Linked DNA regions of Homo sapiens: all the other regions are linked to region 2. Evidence: promoter capture Hi-C in human tissues and cell types (Jung and others, 2019). All regions are on one chromosome and are shown on one strand. The core of a region is centred on a gene start or on the middle of the fragment in contact, and the rest is flanking DNA. Distances in the headings are between cores, read along the strand shown. Region 1 overlaps UBE3A (ubiquitin protein ligase E3A). Region 2 holds the start of SNURF (SNRPN upstream open reading frame). Region 3 overlaps UBE3A (ubiquitin protein ligase E3A).

What was found. The method cuts DNA at HindIII sites, captures the fragments that hold promoters and counts their contacts. A contact is called where the count stands out against the background at its distance.
Region 1: a fragment that was not itself captured here is called in contact with the fragment with the promoter of SNURF in region 2 in 1 of the 25 tissues and cell types used here (dorsolateral prefrontal cortex).
Region 3: a fragment that was not itself captured here is called in contact with the fragment with the promoter of SNURF in region 2 in 1 of the 25 tissues and cell types used here (dorsolateral prefrontal cortex).

What each region holds. Positions count from the first base shown.
Region 1 is chr15:25,405,143-25,408,536 of GRCh38, forward strand. It overlaps UBE3A (ubiquitin protein ligase E3A), which reads right to left. Exons shown (of 13, transcript NM_130839.5): 4 at 319-360. All of the region lies in intron 147 of SNHG14 (small nucleolar RNA host gene 14), which reads left to right. Among named protein-coding and RNA genes, the nearest start is that of UBE3A, 32 kb to the right of the region's middle. The HindIII fragment of the contact is 3,743 bases long and covers 1-3,394 here.
Region 2 is chr15:24,953,108-24,956,720 of GRCh38, forward strand. It overlaps SNURF (SNRPN upstream open reading frame), which reads left to right and starts at 1,880. Exons shown (of 3, transcript NM_001394334.1): 1 at 1,880-1,955. The coding sequence starts at 1,942. It overlaps SNRPN (small nuclear ribonucleoprotein polypeptide N), which reads left to right and starts at 1,880. Exons shown (of 10, transcript NM_003097.6): 1 at 1,880-1,955. The region is part of intron 4 of SNHG14 (small nucleolar RNA host gene 14); the gene reads left to right. RefSeq lists enhancers at 2,295-2,860, 2,861-3,426, 3,251-3,410, 3,427-3,613. The HindIII fragment of the contact is 13,657 bases long and covers 1-3,613 here.
Region 3 is chr15:25,423,880-25,427,247 of GRCh38, forward strand. The region is part of intron 1 of UBE3A (ubiquitin protein ligase E3A); the gene reads right to left. Among named protein-coding and RNA genes, the nearest start is that of UBE3A, 13 kb to the right of the region's middle. The HindIII fragment of the contact is 5,028 bases long and covers 1-3,368 here.

The sequences.
Region 1 (3,394 bases), core at 514-3,013, 450 kb after region 2:
AATATGGTAGGCGTTGAGACTGTTAAACTCAACTCTTTCCTCAACCTCCCTATTTCCCTACAACTGCTACCAGGGAAGCAAAAAGACTAAGAATTTAGGCGTGTGCATTTATCTATCTAGTAGTAGAAACCTAGTAAACTGTTACCGAGGTTTAGAGTTATCTGATAGGAAAAAAAGTAGGTATGTTCCTATCTCCCATTTACTGCTAAATGATTCCTTTCTTTTAACCAGAAATTATTTCCAAATAATGTGACGTAATTTAAAGCAGTCTAGGGCAACTCAAAATAAGAACCACAGTCTCAACCAAGTTACACTTACATTCGGCTAGCTTCAATGTCGTCAGACTGAGGTTCTCCTGATCTGTAAAATGCAATTGAGAAACAGTTAGCAAAATATTCCATATTCCAAAAAAAAAGGTAGACATATTACTTAGGAAGACAATTTTGTAAACAAGATTTAAGCACTAAATAAAACAGTTTTAAAATTAAAGATGTCAACATGAAAGAAAGTGGTCAGATCAGGTGGCCATACAACACATTTATTTTAAGGGTTGGACTATTAAAAAACTCAATGCATGTTTTTTAAAGGAAACTGTAAACGCTATACATAGATACCAACAGACAAGCCATTATAAGCCATAATTATTCACAAAGTCAAATACGTGTAATAAAACACACAACTAAAAAACTTCCTATAGCCAAGTATTGGTTATCCACATTAACAAAGGTACTCACTGGTATTCACTCACAGTATTAAACTTTAGATTAGTGGCTCAGTAAACTACTCCCTAGGCAGACAGACTAAAGCTTAGGCCAGCCATGTAGTTTTGTAAATGAAGTTTTATTGGGATGCAGCCATACTCATTCATTTAGGTATCATCTATGGCTGCTTTCACACTAAAAGAACAGAGCTGAGGACTTGTGGCAGAAACCACATGGCCCATAAAGCCTAAAATATTTATTTTCTGGCCCTTTAAGAACAAATGTGCCAACCGCTACCGCTACTCCAGACAATTCAAACTAAAATCTAATACCTTGGTAAGTTTAAAGACACTTAAATCAGATACAACATTCTAATGATGATTATCTTGGTTCAACAATGAAACTGTTTCCCTAAAAATACACTTACTGTATGTATTACCTGTCAAAAGTGTATCACCTGAGGTGAAGTTTTGCACTGGATAGCTGTGAATTAACTTCAGTTTTAAACAGTTGCCAGTTACTTTGTTATTTCTAAATATACTACTGCTCTCTCATGTAGAAATATTTAAAATTCTAAGTCACTAAAAAGCCTTTCATTTTCATTTCACGAGATATGAATCAGTATTTCCCTATCTATTCACTTTTATAAACAGCATCAGCAACAATGAATGAGTCAATATAATATTGATTTCTAACACTTAGAAATTCCCAAACTAGATAAAAAATGTTTTTTGAGGTCAAAAGCTAAATTTTCAAATTGGCATTACAAAGTCCTGATTTGTGAACTTCTCACTGACTTTAGGCTTCCAACTTTAAGCAACTCTAACAAGAATCTTAAAATCAGTCACACACACACACACACACACACACACGCACACACACAAACCTGTTTTCTAAATTTCTTAGCTAAAAACAAAAACAAAAACAAAAAACAACCCCTCACTTCTTTATCAGACTCTCAAAATTACCCTCACTGCAATTCATTCAGATTCCAAGGACAAGAATGGAAAAGGAAAAAAAAAAAAAAAAAAGACTCCAGCAGCTCAAATATTTATTTTAGATCTTCTTTGCAATGTATTTAAATTTTCAATTTTGCACAAAATTACATAACAACTAAAAACTGGGGCATGCTGGAGGTGGCAGTGACTTGGCTGTGACACAAATGCAAAAATTTCACTCCACCCTCTCCCCCAGGGAGCAAGCAAATCACCTATGTGACACACCTGGTCTCCACCAGCCTTGTGGGTAAGTACCCCAAGATTGCTTCCAAACTTGTATCTCCCAGACAGAAGAGCTAAAAATTGATGATAACCCCATGTACCAGCTGACTCATTTTTGAAAGTGCGACCCTCCAGCATCAGATGTCATACTGTAAGGAGGCAGAGCTGGCTTGCAAAACAAAAAATAAACCTGCTGGCACTGAGGGAAGAGAGGCAGATTAGAAGTTTTCAAACACGTAGGCAGCAAAACTTTCAAAATTAACAGGGAAAGAGAAGAGAGGGAAAAAATGAGGACATGATGATAGGAAAATAAAAATATTACTGCAAAAAGGTAAGACACAAGAAGAAAAACAAATCTAAGTCTTAGAAGTACAATATGTAACTGTTACAAAGTTTTGAGATCCTGAAATGGGATAGAGTTTAAATACATTATCAAATGATAACTACATCTATCTTCCCAATTTCTGTTCCCTAAGCAAGAGAATATGTGAACTTTGGCATCAAAATGTTTGCCACCAAACTGTAACATATTAATTACTACTTTTTACATATATTAAAGTAGGCTATTAAAAACCATTGATAAGACAAGCTAAGTAATTTAAACCAATCCAGTATAGAAGAAGAAGGATTGAAAGATTATTACCTTAAAATAAATCTGTCCTGGGTCTATTAAACATAGCAAAGTTGTTCTACTCAAATTGGAAATTGTTTTTTAATCAAGAGAAAAATGAATATATGCAGAACTAGCAGACATTTTTCTTGCAGTAATTTATAATAGTTTCTGTCTGAATGAATTTCTACTCATCCTAATAACAGTATATTTCTAGAATATTATAAATAAGTTACCAAAGTCCCGAGGTTAGAATTCAAACTCTCAAAACTATGACATATGCCAGGTGTGGTAGTTCATGTCTGTAATCTCAGCACTTTGGGAGGTCAAGACATAAGGACCACTTGAGCTCAGGAGTTCAAGGTCAACCTGGGCAACATGATGAAACCTCGTCTCTTAGCCGGGTGTGGTGGTGGGTGCCTTTAGTCCCAGCAACTTGGGAGGCTGAGGTGGGAGGGTCACTTGAGCCCAGAAGGTCAAAGTTGCAGTGAACTGTGATCGTGCCACTGCACTCCAGCCTGGGCGATGGAGTGAGACCTTGTCTTGGAAACAAACATAAACTATGAAATATATACCACCTAGCAACAGTTCCCAAGCTTGACTTTGGCTCCTAAAGAGTCTACTTATTCTTTTACTGCCAAGTTGCTGGAAGTAAGAATCCTGTATGTGCTTGTAAATGCAGAACATATAACCTAATTCAAAACATATAACCAAAGGGAAATTTTTGTATTAAACTATTGACTTAGGTTATCCTAAAGTGTGTCAGAATAACAAGTCAGAAATTTTAAAACTGAAACAATAACCAAATAACATTGGATAATAAAATGTAAATCTCAGAATGAGAATCAATTTTAGGTCTTGAT
Region 2 (3,613 bases), core at 630-3,129:
TATAAAGTAAACAGAATCCCTTCTTTTGTTACAGATTAGGAATTTAATGCACAGAGGGTTAGATAACTTGCTCAAAGTAACATTGTGGTCAAGAGTCAAAGCTAGAATTTGAATCAAAAGAGCCTGAGTCCAAAGGCATGGTTTTCATCACTGGACTATAATGGTGTGTATTCTTTCATAATTTTTTCAGTGTAAAACTGAACATACAGTATGCTTTTATTTTATTTATTTTTTTGAGATGGAGTCTTGCCCTGTCACCAGGCTGGAGTGCAGTGGTGTGATCTCAGCTCACTGCAACCTCCGCCTCCCACGTTCAAGCAATTCTCCTGCCTCAGCCTCCCGAGTAGCTAAGATTACAGGCATGTGCCATCACGCCCAGCTAATTTTTCTGTTTTTTGTAGAGATGGGTTTCACCATGTTGGCCAGGATGGTCTCGATCTCCTGACCTCGTGATCTGCCCACCTCGGCCTCCCAAAGTGCTGGGAATACAGGCGTAAGCCACTGTGCCCAGCCTACATTTTATTTTTCGATTGACTCCCGTGATCAGAGTCAACTTCCCATGTTATTTTATGTGAATATGTATCAATGAACTATTAGAAATTGCAATGTTTTTGTAGGTCAAAACAATTCAATATTGACAATTTTATATGATTCAGCCTAATACATCATTTTTTCCATCAGCCATATTGCATGTTATTATTTATATATACGTTTATTTAGTTAGCCTATCTGTTCTCTGTGAGGAACATTACACAGTTTCTGAGATTTTGTTACGATAGAAGTCAGCATTGATAAGCCTCTGCGCACCTGTTTTAATGTAGGATCATTGGGAACTGAGCAGTAGCTTACAGGGCTTGGGAGGGGATTTAACCATTTAGTCAACCTCCACTCACATCACCCTCCCTTCTTCGATAATGGGCAATTGAGAAAGGGCAAATGTGTGTAAAAACTATGCAGATGCAGTTTCAGGATTATTTTCTTCTTTTCTGCAGTGTCTTTTCCCAAGCTACATCAGCGTCTAAATTTTGGAGTTACTGATGCTTCCGTTATTTCTGCAGATAGAATATTATGTCGTAAATAATGTTTACTTGTCCATTAGTATTATATAAAAGTGCCTGTTTCTCCCCACTCCAGCTATCATTGATTATTGGTAAAAATTTTAATGTATCCAATTCTAATAGGCAAAGAAAGGCTCTCCTACTTAGATCTTAGGTGGGGGTCTAAGTTCATATTTTTGTTTTACAAAAATTGAATAGCCAGTGTTTTTGAGTTGAATGATCTATCCATTCCGTATAGGAGAGTTTAATTATATTGTGATTTTGGGGGAGATAATTTTCACAATTTACCCCCTCAAAATGTAGAAAGTAGAAAAAGGGTAGAAAAATCGCACCAAATTTGAACAATGTAGCATGCTTTTAGAGTTAGGGATATTTTCTTTTGGAAGGATTTCAAGTCTGGCGTATTTGCATTGATTGTGGTTATGGCGCATTTAACTTTTCCAAACCAGCTTTTTTGTACCGCACATAGGAAGACCTGAGGGTGAGTGTAAATTAGGATTGTTTGGCCAGTGGTGTGTGCAAAAATTTATTGTAGAACCAAGAATTATTTCTTTAGTATTTTACACATTTTAAAAAACAGGTAGACATGTCCATTGATCCCAGGTTGCTTATGGTTTCTAGAGGCCCCCTCTCATTGCAACAGTGCTGTGGGGCCCTAGGGGTCCAGTAGCCCCCTCCCCCCAGGTCATTCCGGTGAGGGAGGGAGCTGGGACCCCTGCACTGCGGCAAACAAGCACGCCTGCGCGGCCGCAGAGGCAGGCTGGCGCGCATGCTCAGGCGGGGATGTGTGCGAAGCCTGCCGCTGCTGCAGCGAGTCTGGCGCAGAGTGGAGCGGCCGCCGGAGATGCCTGACGCATCTGTCTGAGGAGCGGTCAGTGACGCGATGGAGCGGGCAAGGTCAGCTGTGCCGGTGGCTTCTCTCAAGAGACAGCCTGGGGAGCGGCCACTTTTATTCATCAGATATTCCAAGTTTTTAGGACTTGGAGTACTGAATAAACGGAATTTGGGCCCTAAAGTCCTTTGTTCTGGAGAACCAGATCCGGAATGTTCAGAGGCTTGCTGTTGTGCCGTTCTGCCCCGATGGTATCCTGTCCGCTCGCATTGGGGCGCGTCCCCCATCCGCCCCCAACTGTGGTGTCGCGACAGGTCCTATTGCGGGTGTCTGCGGTGGGAAGGGCGGTGGTGACTGGGAGCATGCGGGGTAACCGCAGTGGGCAAGGGACATGGGTGGAGGTGGGTACATCAGGGTGATTGCAGTTCCGTGTGGCGAGGGTACGTGGGGGGACCAGTGCATAGGGATTTTAGGCGGAGGTAGGTATATTGGAGTGATTGTGGCGGGGCGAAGGTACGTGAAGTGATCGGTATTTAGGGGGTGTTGAGCGCAGGTAGGTGTATAATAGTGACCACTGCGTGGTGGAGCAGGGTACGTGGGGCGACTGGGGGGGGAATTCGTCGCAGTGACCGAGGCGAGGAGGCTATGGCAGTGGACCAGGGGGATGAGTCGGTGTGACAGTGGTGGGGGTTGTGTTGGTGGTCGCGGCGCGGGGAGAGTCCGTAGGAAGTGGCTGGGAGGTAGGGGGAAGGCGGCGACAGTGGGTATTGGCGGCGGTGGGCATTGGCAGCGGGTAGGCATGGCGGTGGTGGACTTTGGCGGCGGTAGGCATGGCGGCGGTGGGCATGGCATGGAGGCGGTGGGCATGGCGGCCGCGGGGCCTGTCGCTGTCCGGAGTGACTAAGGGACGCTGAATGATTGCTGTGTAGAGGAGGGGGCATCAGAAGGGGCAGTAGCACAGTCCGCAGCCTTTAATTTTCCTGTGACCTGCGATGGTCATCTGGTTTGCCTACTGTGGTGGTGGTGCTTTTTTATTAAAACTGCGCAATGCCTACACTGCCGCAGGGGCTGCAGAAATGCGTGGAATCCTTGCGTACCCTTTAGGAACCCTCGCTTTAGAGGCTATGGCATAAGAAGACTGGAATGATGTGCAGAACTTGCATTTACAGATCTTTTGACTGATAGGCCAGGTGATGCCTGGGGGTTACTTTTTTTTCATTGTTTCTCTCTGTTGGGAACCAGGTCTTGGAAGGCTATGTCGAAATAACCTGGGGGTCTGTGTTGCGTCACTGCCATTGTGCAGCTCCTTCAAGATGGCCGCCGCTGCAGCGGCTTAGATCTGCGCAAGCGCTTCAGCGGGGGGGTGGCCGCTTCCTCCCTGTAGAGCCGCCAGTGGGGAGGGGGCAGGTGGTGTGTGTTCAGCTTCTGCTGTTTCGGAGTTTCAGCCGTACCCTCTTTAGGGTGCAGTGGTAAGGAGAGGAAGCCGGCCAAGGTGGGCGGCTGCCCCCTCCCCAAAGTGCTGCTTGGGAAAGGATGCAGGTTGCGCAGACGCAGCAGAGGTGACAGTCGCCTCCGCTTGCAGTGGGGCGAGACGTGGGGCAGGGGAGCGAGGGCTTACGCAGCTTTTGCCTGGAAGGAATGGCAGCCCTCCCCTTCACCTGGCTGATACAGCAGCTGTTCCTTTCCGGTTGTGGCGCAGTAGAGGGGGGAGGAGGGAGATGGG
Region 3 (3,368 bases), core at 401-2,900, 470 kb after region 2:
TCCTATGGACTCTATTTCAACATATATCAAGAATTCAACCACTTCTCACCACCCTCACTGTGACCACTCTGTCCATTTCAGTCACGTCTTAATCTGTACTAATGGTCTACCAATTGGTCTGTTTCTGCCCTTGTCCCCTTTTTCAGTCTATGATTAACACAGCAACCAGAGTGACCTTGCTAAACATAAGTCATACTTTTTCACTACTCTGCTCAAAGACTTCCAATAGCTTCCCATCTCACTTATAGGTAAAAATCAAACACCTTATTATGATCAAAATATCTGTACCCTCCATTCTCTCTATTTCCCATCAATTACTTTTCTAAAGCTACACTGGCCACACCTCGAGTTCTTCAAACACATCAGGCACTCTCACTTTGGGGTTTCCCTATTCACTACACTCTGCCTGAAATGCTCTTCCCCCAAATATCCACATGGCTAGCTCTCTCATCTCCCTCAGTTCTTCACCCAAGTTACCATTTCAGTGAAGTTTTCTCTACCTACCCTATCTAAAATTTCCCATCATCCTTTTCACCTGCAAACACTTCCCTTATTTGTTTCTTCTCCTTAGCACTATGTAACATATATTTTACCTATCTTTATGATCTCTTTTTAGGATTTAAGTGCCATGAAAGCAAAGGACTGAGTGGGTTTTATACACTGCTGTCTCTACCAGGACCTAGAAAAAAAGGCCCACTACACAGTAGGTGTTCAAGAAATGTTTACTAAGTGAATCAGATGGATGTGTATGTAGCCAACCATTTGAAAGATTCCTATAACACAGTTAAGAGGAAAAAAAAATTATATGAAACACAAGTTTTAGTACACAAAAATCTATGCACAAGGAATTAAAAACCTGAAATGAAATTTTAAAAAATTCAATTTGCAATACCATCAAAACATAAAATTCTTAGAAATAAATTTTTAAAGTAATAAGTACAAGACCTGTATACTGAAAACTACAAAACATGAAAGAAATTAAAGAACACCTTAATAAATGGAAAGATATCCCATGCTCATGAATGAGAAGACAGTATTAAGGTAGCAATACTTCCCAAATAGACCTACAGATTCAACACAAATCCAAGTCCTATTAAAATCCCAGTTGCATTTTTTTGCAAGCTAACCCTAAAATTCTATGGAAATTTGAGAAACCCAGAGACCCAAAACAATTTTGAAAAAGAATAAGTTAGAATACTCACATTTCCTGGTTTCAAGACTTACTACAAAGCTACAGTAATCAAGAGTGTGTGTTACCCAAAAAAAACAGACATACATGTCAATGAACATACCTTGAAAATACCATGGTAAGTAAAAGAACCCACACACAAAAGGACACATACTGTATGATTCCCATTTATATGAAATATCCAGAATAAATAAATTCATAGAGACAAAGCAGATTAGTGGTTTCCAGAGGCCAGGAAAGAATGGGGAATGGCTGCTAACAGGTTAGGATTTATTTTGGGGATGATGAAAATGTTCTAAAATTCAATAGTGGTGATGGCTGCAGAACTGTGAATATACTAAAAACTTTAAAAGGGTGAATTTTATAGTATGTGAATTATCTCAATAAAGCTATTAACAGTTTTGAAAGTTAGAGAATATGTTTGGTAGGATTTTTTTTAAATACTGCCTCCCCAAAAGGAAAAAAGCTGTATGTATATCAGTACTTTTACAGCTATCTTACATTTTATATTTGATTGGTAATTTCCTTCCAGGCATTTTTTTCCCTCTACAGTTAAACACACTTAACAACTGTTAAGTTTTAGAATTGGCTATGAAGCGAAGAGAAACCTTTCATTTCTTCTTATACTTAAAAAAAAATAGCTTTTTATTTTTCTTTTCTGTATTTCCTCATCCTCAAAAATAGATTCTACACACCAATATTTGAGGGATGGTGGGGCAACTACCACAAAATACAAGAGGCTCTCTTCTGGAAATGTAAAAATGTTAGAATTCCTAGGAACTTTTCATGATTTATGAGCCTAACCTAACATTTAAAACTGAGCCCATGCTGGTAAATCTGGGCTACACAGTCATACATACATAGAACTCTGGAATCACAACACATCCACTGTGCACTGGAAGAGTACTGTAATCTCCTTCTAATGTGCACCTTGGCTCTCCCCTCCCTTGGGTTCTTTGAAATTTTTTTTTTAAATAAGGTATGTTTATTTCTTATTTACCTACTAACTACAGAAGGTAGACTCACAATGTGCCAATATTAAAATGTTATCATTCCTCATTAAAATATTTACTTAAGTGTTTTATTACATGACTTACCAGCAATGGAAGAATCTCATCTGAGAGTAGTTCTCAACTGTCATCTATGAAAATCTTTAGAAATACCAAATCATCAGAATTACTTTAATTTCCTGGCTTTTAATCATAAAGCATTCCTACTGGTCAACAATTCTACAATCTGAAAACAGGGACATCTGTACCATATAGTCCCAATGATTTATTATTCTGAAATTTTCCTCTGGGTTATTTTTACACTGTAATTAGAGTTCAAACTTCCATAGCGCCTAGCCTAAAATTAAACCCAGAATTATGCCAATTTATGCCTGCTATATATGCACACACAAAAGACTTATAATGCAATATACTAAAAGAACTAAAGGTAGGTGGGTTTTTCCTTGAAGGAATCATAGCTACATTATTTTCAAGTTTAATCTGTTACATTCACCTGCCTATCAAATAAATGTAGCACTTAAACGCATAAAACAAAATTTGATTTAGTGACAAAAAACCATTAGCTTCTAATTTAACTTCAAAACGCTTTTCAAAAAATCTACCCCATCTAATTCTAAGTGAACCAGACCACACTTGATAGAAAACTGTTGTTCTAAAAACCATACGTACTTAACACAAACAGTAAACATATGAGAACATTTAGTCTTCTATTAATGTCTTACAAAATATTTCAATGTGGCTGGTTATAATTTTTTTTTTTTTAAGGGACAGGGTCTGTCACCGCGGCTGGAGTGCAGTGGTGTGATAACAACTCACTGCAGCCTGGAACTCCAGGGTTCAAGCAATCCCCCCACCTCAGCCTCCCAAGCTGGGCTAATTTTATTTTTCATAGGGATAAGGTCTCACTTTGTTGCCCAGGCTGGTCTCCAATTCGTGGCCTCAAGTGACTCTCTCACCTCTGCCTTATATTTCCGTTTGAGCTGTTATTATCAACTGGAGTAACATTTCTAGTTGGGGAAAAAAGAACTGATCCTTATCTGTAGATGAACACTTATACATTCAGCACTTACAAATAACTGAATGTGGGCATGAAAAAAAGAATGACAGATGATAAACATTTACTGTTCTCAAAATAAATTACCTAATCTCAGTTGAGATAAACACGACTC